3 separate regions of the Homo sapiens genome follow, and all the other regions are linked to region 3. The links are contacts of gene promoters, found by promoter capture Hi-C in human tissues and cell types (Jung and others, 2019). All regions are on one chromosome and are shown on one strand. Each heading gives the region's core, a stretch centred on a gene start or on the middle of the fragment in contact. The rest is flanking DNA. Distances are from core to core; before and after follow the strand shown. Region 1 overlaps SUZ12 (SUZ12 polycomb repressive complex 2 subunit). Region 2 overlaps LRRC37B (leucine rich repeat containing 37B). Region 3 holds the start of LRRC37B (leucine rich repeat containing 37B).

Region 1 (3,740 bases), core at 337-2,836, 39 kb before region 3:
AATGAGCTGAGATTGCGTTACTGCACTCCAGCCTGGGCGACAGAGCGAGACTCCATCTCAAAAAAAAAAAAAAAGGGAAAATCACTTATCAGCTTATCCATCATAAGTCTGTGTATATGGCATATCTTTTTATTATGCAATGGAATAAAACCATTATTAGAAACATGCCAGGTTGGTTGTCTTGGTATCGTTTAGTAAGAAACAAAGATTGAAAATGAGTCCTGGTGGGCCGGGCACGGTGGCTCACGCCTGTAATCCCAGCACTTTGGGAGGCTGAGGCGGGTGGATCACAAGGTCAGGAGATCGAGACTATCCTGGCTAACATGGTGAAACCCCGTCTCTACTAAAATACAAAAAAACTAGCTGGGTGTCGTGGTGCACACCTGTAGTGTCACCAGTGGCACTCCAGCCTGGTGACAGAGCGAGACTCTGTCTAAAAAAAAAGAAAAAGAAAATGAGTCCTGGCCTGGTGGCTCATGTCTGTAATCTCAGCATTTTGGGAGGCTGAGGTGGGAAGATGACTTGAGGCCAGGACTTCAAGACCAGCCTGGGCAACACAGACCCCATCTCTACAAAAATTAGCCAGGTATGGTGGTATGTCCTGTAGTTCTAGGTACTTGGAAGTCCAAGATGGCAGGATGGCGTAAGCTCAGGAATTCAAGGTTACAGTGAGCTATGATTGCACAACTCTACTCCAGGCTGGGCAACAGAGTGAGACCTTGTCTCCAAAAAATCCCAAATATTAGACTGGGCGTGGTGGCTCACAGCTATAACGTCAACACCTTGGGAGGCTGAGATGGAAGAATAGCTTGAGGCTTGCCTGGGCAACATAGGGAGAACCTGTCTGTAAGAAGTAAAAAAAGATTAACTGGGCACAGTGGCACATGCCTGTAGTCCCAGCTATTCTGTAGTCTCAGCTACTCAGGAGGCTGAGGTGGGAGGATTGCTTGAGTCTTGGAGGTTGAGGCTGCAGTGAGCCAAGATCACACCACTGTACTCCAGCCTGAGTGACAGAGTGAGACACTGTCTAAAAAAGACAAAAAGACAACCTTGCCAATTGGCCAATTGTCAAAATGCTCTAATATAACCATTTTTTAATGACTCTTTGGGGGTTGTTTGTTTGTTTAGACAGGGTCTTGCTCGTGTCACCCAGGCTGGAGTGCAGTGGTGTGATCAACTCCTGGGCTCAAGTGATCCTCCTGCCTCAGCCTCCTGAGTAGCTGGAACTACAGGCGTTCCCACCATGCCTGGCTAATTAAAAAAAATTTTTTTTGTTAAGATGGAATCTCACTACATTTCCCAGGCTGGTCTCAAACTCCTGGTCTCAAGTGATCCTCTCACCTCAGTCTCCCAAAGTGCGGGGATTACAGGTGTGAGCCACTGAGACTGGCCCTAGTTAGGGTTTTTATGTAAGAAATTTGAAATCTCGTATTTGTATTAGCAGCTAATGTAACTTCTAGTTTTTACCTTAGATCTGGTCTATTTTTTATATAGAAGTAACCTGGGTAGCATTACGGTTTTTGTTTTCCTTAAATTATTTGTAATGGTCTGCTTAGAGTCCTTATTTCTAGTCATCGTATTTTGTTTTCTGTGGTACTTCTGACGTGTCTAGACTTTAATTCTTCAGAAACTTATAATTTGAATTTTATACATTCATTAGCCCTTTGTTCTCAGGGACCTGTGTAGAACACATAGTTTATCCATCACTGAAATTTTTGGAAAGTAGTCATATTAAGCTTTTTTCCTATCTTCATGACAAAATATATAAAGTTCAACAATTGCTCAGATTTACTTTGTTTTTATTTTTCTTGATATTGAAGTAAAAGAGATAGTGAACTCTGTTGATATCTCTGTTTCCAGAAAATAATTCCTCTGTCACCTAGGCTGGAGTGTAGTAGTTTGATCTCAGATCACTGCAGCCTCTGCCTCCAGGTTCAAGTGATTCTCATGCCTCCACCTCCCAAGTATCTGGGATTACAGGCGGGTGCCACCACACAAGCTAATTTTTTTTCTTCTTTTTCTGAGATGGAGTTTCACTCTGGTTGCCCAGGCTGGAGTGCAATGGCGCAATCTCGGCTCACCACAACCTCTACCTCCCGGGTTCAAGCAATTCTGTTGCCTCAGCCTCCCAGAGTAGCTGGTATTACAGGCATGCACCACCATGCCCCGCTAATTTTTTGTATTTTTAGTAGAGATGGGGTTTCTCCACGTTGGTCAGGTTGGTCTCTTGAACTCCCGATCTCAGGTGATTTGCCCACCTCGGCCTCCCAAAGTGCTGGGATTTCAGTAGGCATGAGCCACCGAGCCCAGCCCCTAATTTTTATATTTTTAATGGAGACAGGATTTCATTTCACCATGTTTGCCAGTCTGGACTCAAACTCCTGGCCTCAAGTGATTCACCCACCTCGGCCTCCCAAAGTGCTAGGATTATAGGCGTGAGCCACCACGCCTATGTTGAAAATAACTATTCTATTTTAACTTTGAAACTAGTAGAAGTTGGAAGTAGATATATTGTGTTTCTTTTCCATCCAAGGTTTATTTGTACCTTTTTTGTTTTCAATAATATTTTTAAGAAACCAGGATAGAAAACCAACATCAAGTTCTCTAAAATGTACCAGGAGCAGTGATGCTTGCCTGTATTTCCATCTACTGAGGAGGCTGAGCTGGGAGGTTTGCTTGAGCCCAGGAGTTTGAATAGAGTCTGGGCAACATAGTGGGACCCTCTCTCAAAACAAGGAAAAAAAAATTTTTAATTCTTAAAATGTGATTTTTTCTTCTTATTTTCTTACTATTAATTATTTTTTAGACAGAGTCTTGCTCTGTCACTCATGCTGGAGTGCAGTGAGCAGTCTTGCTTCATTGCAGCCTCCCGGGCTCAAGCGATCCTCTCACCTCAGCCTCCCAAAGGGCTAGGATTACAGGCATGAGCCACTGCATCCGGCCTCTTGTTTTTAAATGAAAACTTTTGTTTGGCAATTACTACTTGAAACTGCTTCTTAGAATGAATACACAAAGATTATTTGGGTACTATTTTCATGATGAGTATTGTTCGGCAAATATTTTTGTTACTGCATTTAGACATTGGACTATTTTTTGCTGTATTAAGGTGTTTTTATCCTGGATGCAACTTCCGAAGAAACTGATCAAATGTGTTTTACACACACACCCCCAATAAGAATGTTTTTAAGTAGAAAAAAAGTGTTGCCGGCCAGGCGCAATGGCTCACGCCTGTAATCCCAGCACTTTGGGAGGCCGAGGCAGGTAGATCACCTGAGGTAGGGAGTTTGAGACCAGCCTGGCCAACATGGTGAAGCCCCGTCTCTACTGAAAATAACCAAATTAGCTGGGAATGGTGTTTCATCCCCATAATCCCAGCTACTCTGGAGATTGAATCATGAGAATTGCTTGAACCTGGGAGGTGCAGGCTGCAGGGAGCCGAGATTGTGCCACTGCATTCCAGCCTGGACAACCGAGTGAGGCTGACTCAAGAAAAGAAAAAAAAAAATTACCCAGGCTTGGTGGCTTGTGCCTGTAGTCTGTAGTCCCAGCTACTCGGGAGGCTGAGGCAGGGAGAACTGCTTTAACCCAGGAGGCGGAGGTTGCAGTGAGTCAAGAACATTCCATTGCACTCTAGCCTGGGCAACAGAGCAAGACTCTCTCTCTCAAAAAAAAAAAATAAAGAAAAAATGTGTTGCCCAGTGCCTTAGAACAAAAAATTTTTTTTGTGTGTTCATGGATTC
Region 2 (3,754 bases), core at 187-2,686, 42 kb after region 3:
CAGGAAAGGCACTTCAAAAAGGTGGGAAAGCACAGCACTAGGAAAGAACAGGATGCCCAGGCATTTGTGGACAATGCTGCCAAAGGAAAAAGGCTTGAGGGTCCAGCCCCAAGGGAGCTGGAACAGCCTCACATAGTGCAGGGGCCTGAGAAGGTAGTGGGAAACACCATCTACACCAAGCCTTCATTCACCCAAGAGCATAAGGCAGCAGTCTCCTCTGTGCTGAAACCCTTCTCCATGGGCGTGCCTTCTGCCTCTAGCCCTGCAAAAGCCCTACCTCAGGTCAGAGACAGATCGAAAGACTTAGCCTACACCATTTTAATTTTAGAAATGGCAATGGCTAGAGTGAAAAACATGAAGGCTGCTAAACCAATCACACATTCCAGAAAAAAATACCGCTTTTATAAAACTCACTCCCGTGTGGCCCACAGAACACCGAAGGCCAAAAAGATTAGAAAGTTTAGAAAGGGCAGTTATCTCAACAGACCGATGCTCGCAAAGAGGCCGCTGTTCTCTGCAGCGAAGAGCCTCATAAATTCGCAAGGGGTTTTTTCATCCTTAGGAGACCTGAGTCCTCAAGAAAACCCTCTTCTGGAAGTAGTTGCTCCTTCAGAACGTTTTATAGAAAACACTAGTGTAAAAGACACAACTAATGTAAAAGACACAAAAGAGATGTGTTCAAAGACACATCTCTGAAAACACAAACTACAATCATCCTCCTGAGGCAGTTTCCGCTGGGACTGCATTCAACTTAGAACCAACTGTTAAACAAACTGAGACAAAATGGGAATACAACAATGTGGGCATTGACTTGTCCCCTGAGCCCAAAAGCTTCAATTACCCATTGCTCTCGTCCCCAGGTGATCAGCTTGAAATTCAGCTAACCGAGCAGCTACGGTCCCTCATCCCCAACGAGGATGTGAGAAAGTTCATGTCTCATGTTATCCGGACCTTGAAAATGGAATGTTCAGAAACACATGTGCAAGGGAGCTGTGCCAAGCTCATGTTGCGAACAGGCCTCCTGATGAAGCTTCTCAGCGAGCAGCAGGAAGCAAAGGCATTGAATGTAGAATGGGATACGGACCAACAAAAAACAAATTATATTAATGAGAACATGGAACAGAATGAACAGAAAGAGCAGAAGTCAAGTGAGGTGAGGACCACACAGAAACATGAGACCCAGATTTCCCATCATTTAGCGTATGCCAGGAGAGTGCCCACATAGGAGAACCTGGGACTCCCAGGCCATAGCTTGTCTTGGCCATGTAACTTTGGCCATGACAGTGATCTCCCACTTTGCTCATGTAGACAGTGAAATAGATTAGGGCACAAGATGAACTGTAGGCCGGGGGTGGTAGCTCATGCCTGTAATCCCAGCACTTTGGGAGGCCGAGGTGGGTGGATCACTTGAGGTCAGGAGTTTAAGACCAGCTCGGCCAACGTAGTGAAACCCCGTCTTCACAAAAAATACAAAAATTAGCTGCGTGTGGTGACACGTGCCTGTAGCCCCAGCTACTCAGGAGGCTGAGGTGGGAGGATCACCTGAGCCCAGGGAGGTCGAGTCAGTAGTGAACTGTGATCGCACCACTGTACTCCCGCCTGGGTGACAGAGTGAGATCCTGTCTCAAAAAAAATAAAAAGAACAAAAGAACCTGTAAGCTACTCAACTGGCATACTGGGGTTTTGAAAAGTTAGCTTCCATTCTCTCTCTCTTTTTTTTTAATTGTTCTTTCTTTTTTCTTTTTTTTTTCTTTTTTTTAGCTCATGAAAGAAGTTCCAGGAGATGACTATAAGAACAAACTCATCTTCGCAATATCTGTGACTGTAATACTAATAATTTTGATTATAATTTTTTGTCTTATAGAGGTAAGGACAATAATTAATTCAGGTTTTCAGAATACAATCCTGTGTTTGTGTGGATTCAGAATCCACAAACTGAAAACCAACGTCACTTTCCCACTTGACATTCTTCTTCTGTCATTTAAGGCTGAGGTGTGCTTTGTTCTTTTACTGCAATGTATATTCCAGGATTGTTAAAGGATCCTCGCTTCCAGGAGGTCTCTGTGAAATAAAACCAAGTTAATCCCACTAGACTATTTTAAGAAGTTAAGTTGATATAATAGCAAAATTTCTCCCACCCAAAACTATGTCAACAATTGGATGTACTCACTGAGTCACCCCTTACTCTGCCACTAATTTATTTCCTTGTTGCTTAAATGATGAGAGACATATAATCTCCACCCTCACGGAGTTGTAATCACCCTGGAGAGGAAGAAGACAGCCAAAAGAGAGAAGTATTGTCTTGTAGACTTATTAGATTCACATAGTATCATCCTTCTCCAGTGTGTAAGGTGTTGTCTAAATAGGTCCAGTTAAAGAACTACAGGGTAGCCATTTTTAAAAAAAAATTTTGGCCACGTTTTCAAATTCACAGGGGAGGGGGAATGTCTCATACTCCAGCCCTCCTGAGCCTAGGCCCTCTGTGAGATGTGTCACCATTTCTTGGACACCATATGAGACATTCCCCCTCGGATTAGAGATGCTCAACCTGCATCAACAAATCTAAAGCCTACATCTGGCTACCCTGGGGCGAGTCCTGTTTACAGTGCCCATTCCTGGAGCTCGCCTCTTTTTGCCTTTTGTTTGATTATGTGATGTATTACTTTTCCCAGCAGGCCAGTGCTAGCACACTGGAAGAGGGATTTAATAAGCTGGCACCCTTGATGCTATGCTCCTAATCCAACCTTATTTGCCTCATTGGCCATTTCCATTATGGTGGCAGCCCTCCATTCCAGCCACAGCAGCCCCTCAGCGTCCCCCAGTCACACCGTCCCCATTGCTGCTTATCTGTGCCTTTGTCCATCTACAATGCCCTTATTTCACTCTGCCTGTGGGAGTCCTGTGAATCTCTCCAAAGCCAACTCAGTTCATCTTTCTGCTTGAAACCTTCCCTGAATAGGCCAGGTGCGGTGGCTCACGCCTGTAATCCCAGCACTTTGGGAGGCCAAGGCAGGCAGATCACAAGGTCAGGAGATGGAGACCATCCTGGCTAACACAGTGGAACCCCGTCTCTACTAAAAATGCAAAAAATTAGCTGGGTGTGGTGGCGGGCGTGTGTCGTCCCAGCTACTTGTGAGGCTGAAGCAGGAGAATGGCATGAACCTGGGAGGTGGAGCATGCAGCCAGCCAAGATCAGGCTGCTGCACTCCAGCCTGGGGGACAGAGCGAGACTCTGCCTCAAAAAAAAAAAAAAAAAAAGAAAGAAAGAAACTTCCCTGAATATTCCAGCCCTCCTGAGCCTAGTCCCTTTTTGAGATTTGTCCCCATTTCTTGGACACCATATGAGAGACTTCAGAGGCTGAAGTGGGAGGATTGCTTGAGCCTGGGAGGTCGAGGATGCAGTGAGCTGTGGTCATACCACTGCACTCTAGCCTGGGCAACAGAGCGAGACCTTGTCTCAAAAACAGCCACCACCAAAAACTATCTTGGGATTTGAATAGGATTACCTTAAATTTGTAGATAAATTTGAGAATTGACATCTGTACGACATTCTAGAACATGGTATTTCATGTCATGAATTCATTTCTTGTTAATGTCTTTCAGAAGAGTTTTAGGGTTTCCATCATATAGATCTTACACATCTTTTGTTAGATAACAGATCTTTGTATTTTTGTTCCTAAATACTTCAGACATTTGTATTGCCATTGTAAATGGGATCTTTCTTCCATTTTCTAGTTAGTTATTGGTGGTACAT
Region 3 (3,810 bases), core at 1,240-3,739:
GAGTGTCAACATGCTGTTCAAAGGAAATGCTCATTAGAGCATTTCAGATTTTCAGATTAGAAATGATCAACTGGTAAGTAGAATGCAAATATTCCAAAAATGCCCAAAACACTTCTGATCCAAAGCATTTTAGGTAAGGATGCTCAACCTATACAGTATTCACTGACTTAACATTTTTCTTCTTGAAGCCACAGAAAGATAAATTCATTAAAGCATAAAGGAGCAAAACAGCAAATACCTGCTAATCCATTCAAAGAAGAGTTGGGTTTTTTTGGTCTATTTTGTTTAACTTTTCTCTTTTTTTTGGTGGGGGGGAGGGGGTGGTGAAGGAGTCTCGCTCTGTTGCCCAGGCTGGAGTGCAGTGGCATGGTCTCCGCTCACCACAACCTCCGCCTTCCAGGTTCAAGCGATTCTCCTGCCTCAGCCTCCTGAGTAGCTAGGACTATGGGCACATGCCACCATGCCCGGCTAATTTTTGTGTTTTAAGTAGAGATGGGGTTTCACTATGTTGGCCAGGCTAACCTCGAACTTCTGGGCTCAAGTGATCCACCCACCTGGCTTCCTAAAGTGCTGGGATTACAGGTCTGAGCCACCACACCTGGCCACCCTCTTCAAACAAAATATGAGCATTTCCATTGGCCTAGGTCTTCACCTTGTCTACTTTATTGACTTACATTACTTACCTAGTCCCTGAAGACATAACACACATTTGCCACCCTTAGAGCTCAACCAAACTGTATTGAATGCATGTATTTGGCAATTAGTGCTTGTATTTTAATTTTCATTTCACATATGTGTTCCATTTTCCTAACTAGATTGAAATAAGCCATCTCCTATTAGGTATTTTTCTTTCTTTTTTAAAAATTTTGAGACAGGGTCTTGCTCTGTCACTCAGGCTGGAGTGCAGAGGTGCAATCATGGCTCAGTGCAACATCCACCTCCCAGGCTCAAGCGATCCTGCCCCCTCACCCTCTGGCGTAGCTGGGACCACAGGTGCGCACCACCATGCCCGGCTAATTTTTCAATTTTTTTCTAGAGACGAGGTCCTGCTATGTTGCCCAGGCTAGTCTCAAACTCTTGACCTCAAGCAATCGTCCGGCTTTGGCTTCTCAAAGGGCTGGGATTGCAGGCATGAGCTATCGCGCCCGGCCAAGTATTTTTGTTTAAATTACTTTTTGGTTGTCACTTATCTCAATAAATATTAACATATGTTTACGAAACCTTTCTTTTTCTTTTTTTTTTTTTTTTTTTTTTTTTTTTTTTGAGACGGAGTCTCGCTCTGTCTCCCAGGCTGGAGTGCAGTGGCGCGATCTCGGTTCACTGCAACCTCCGCCTCCCGGATTTTACGCCATTCTCCTGCCTCAGCCTCCCGAGTAGCTGGGACTACAGGCGTGCACCACCTACGCCCGGCTAATTTTTTTTGTATTTTTAGTAGAGATGGGGTTTCACTGTGCTAGCCAGGATGGTCTCGAACTCCTGACCTTGTGATCCGCCCGCCTCGGCCTCCCAAAGTGCTGGGATTACAGGCGTCAGCCACTGTGCCCGGCAAACCTTTCTCTTATCTGAAGAACTGACCTCAACCACTCAGGGTTGAGTCCCTGTGATAAGGTTTGAGGGTGCCTGAACTGTCACCATGATTCGTCCCCTGGGCTGAGCTCAAACCTAGTGATTTGTCAGGTAAATAAATTAAGGTTATTTCCCGATAATACAGACCTGTAACACCGTGAAGTAGGTTTTAGGCAGGATTCCCTCTTTTCCACTGCAAAGGAGAGGTAAGTTCTTGCTAAGGTGGTCAGGCTCCTAGCTGGGACACTGGGAAGGTGGCGGGAGATTGGAACATGCAGTAGTTGCATTCTGGAGTTTACTGAGGCTTTCCGAGTGGGGATCCCATGCAACAGGTCTTAGGGACCCCCCTCCCTCCAGGCGTGGCAGCCCGGGGTGTGGCTCCTGGCACAGATCCGGAGCAGTTGTCATCGGAGTCAATTCAGGACTCCACTTCCAAGCTTCGGAGTTTCCTAAATTCTGGGGGCTTGTCTCCCTGTACCCCACCCCGACTAATTTTCCTCGGTCGCTGGCGCTGCCCCGTCCCTTAGGTCGCTCGGGCCGCCCCCCTCCGCGACTTTTTTTTTCTTTCTCTCGCTGCCTCTTTCAGCCTCAGTTTCCCTAGAGGGCGGGAGGGGAACGATATTTGGGGGCTCTCCTGCCTTCCTCTCCGAGCCGCGGAAGGGGAGTCGCGGGAAGGAGACCCGGCAGGCTTTGGGCTCCAGCCAGGGGTCCGCGGAGACTGTGGTCTCCGAAGGCCTTAGACGCGGGGCTTGTCAGGAGCTGCGGGCCTCTTTCAGCCGCGCCACCCGCACCCGGAGCGCCGTGCTGCGCCAAGTCCAGGCGCCCCGAGCTCTCCGCCCCCGACTCAATGCTCCCGCGCTCCCCCTAGCGGCCGCCGCGCCACCTCGCCCCCTTCCCAGGCTGGGCGGCGGCGCACCTCACGTGACCGCGCTCCTGTAGAGGGAAGAAACAAGGTGGCGGTTGAAGGCGATCTTGAGTGGGGCCCCAGCAATTCGGTTGAGCCTTCTCCCTCCACTCGCTTCCGCCGGCCGGGCCCCTCCCGCCCAGCCCCTCGGGCCTCCCAACCCGGCCCCGGCGCTCCCCACCGCCGCCACTGCGCCCGGCCCTCCCCGTCAGCTTTCCCTTCTCCCGCCGCCTGGGCTCCAACAAGAGGGGCCGGCGGGGCAGGCCGACCAAGCAGCCCGCGGCTCCCGCTGCGGAGCGCTGCGCCCCGGCCCCGCCGCCGCCGCCGCCCACGTCCGGACCCATCGGGGGCTCCCCTCGCCGATACGCGGTAGTAGCCGGGGCAGGTGGGCAGCCGCCAGGCTGAGGTGGCGCCCAAGACGCGGCTGAGCTCGCCCAGGGTGGGCAGCAGTAGCCGGAGGAAGCCACCGCCGCCGGCCCGCCCCGCGCCGGCACCAGCGCACGGGCCCGGCGGGGGCGCGGGGGCAGCCACCTAGCCCGGACCACCGCAGCCCGGAGGGCTGTCAACAGAGTGGTGTATGATGACTACGAGAGCGAGGAGGAGGAGTAAGAGGAGGGGGGCGGCGATGCCGAGGAGACCCAGGAGTCTGAGGACAACTAGGAGGATGACATGGAGGAGGACGACGATGACTCCGATTATCCGGAGGAGCTGGAAGATGACGACGAGGACGCCAGTTACTCCACGGAAAGCAGCTTCAGCAGCACTCCAGGTACCCACCCAGCGCAGTTGCTGCAGACTCATTCCCCACCTCCTCTCCCCTCCCCCCTTGCTCACTTATGTGCTGTGCATCCCGCTCCGATCTCCCGCCAACCCCGCCGACCCCTAAACTTTAGAGGGGAAATGGGAGGGCACATCAAGTGGCAAAAAACTAGATTTATAAGAGGAAAGAAGCACATTGTTCAAAATGGAGATTGCATTGTTGCAGGCCGCACTCGCTTGCTCCCCGTCCCCCCAACTCCCTTTTTTTCTCCTCAAAATTTGTGCCAGTGCAGTGTCTCCACCGGGCAGGATTGAAACTTTGGCAAACACATATCCATTGCATTCATTTTTCTCCCCTTGTTTTGGTGTGGTTTTCTGGAATGAAAGAAGCCTCTTGTTTTGCAAACCTCTTTGCATTTCTAATGTGTTTCCTTTCGGATTTTCATTATATATCTGTTCCTTAAAAGGGAATTAAGGATTTGTACAGATTGTGGCACACAGACACACAGAAAAACATGCCTGTGTTCACACCCCTAGCTGTGGTTTTTAAATTGTGTTAAGGAAACGGATCATTTTGGTTA

What was found. The method cuts DNA at HindIII sites, captures the fragments that hold promoters and counts their contacts. A contact is called where the count stands out against the background at its distance.
Region 1: a fragment that was not itself captured here is called in contact with the fragment with the promoter of LRRC37B in region 3 in 1 of the 25 tissues and cell types used here (H1 embryonic stem cells).
Region 2: a contact is called between a fragment that was not itself captured here and the fragment with the promoter of LRRC37B in region 3, in 1 of the 25 tissues and cell types used here (spleen).

The regions. Positions count from the first base shown.
Region 1 is chr17:31,967,140-31,970,879 of GRCh38, forward strand. The region is part of intron 5 of SUZ12 (SUZ12 polycomb repressive complex 2 subunit); the gene reads left to right. Among named protein-coding and RNA genes, the nearest start is that of SUZ12, 32 kb to the left of the region's middle. The HindIII fragment of the contact is 3,191 bases long and covers 1-3,182 here.
Region 2 is chr17:32,048,242-32,051,995 of GRCh38, forward strand. LRRC37B (leucine rich repeat containing 37B) reads left to right here. Exons shown (of 15, transcript NM_001321350.2): 13 at 861-1,153; 14 at 1,762-1,866. Among named protein-coding and RNA genes, the nearest start is that of VILMIR, 33 kb to the right of the region's middle. The HindIII fragment of the contact is 3,391 bases long and covers 1-3,132 here.
Region 3 is chr17:32,004,894-32,008,703 of GRCh38, forward strand. It overlaps LRRC37B (leucine rich repeat containing 37B), which reads left to right and starts at 2,490. Exons shown (of 15, transcript NM_001321350.2): 1 at 2,490-3,239. It overlaps LOC124903972, which reads right to left and starts at 2,814. Exons shown (of 4, transcript XM_047437248.1): 1 at 2,483-2,814; 2 at 1,714-1,812. The coding sequence starts at 2,814. RefSeq lists an enhancer at 1,491-2,413 and silencers at 2,456-2,505, 2,546-2,895. The HindIII fragment of the contact is 11,687 bases long and covers 260-3,810 here.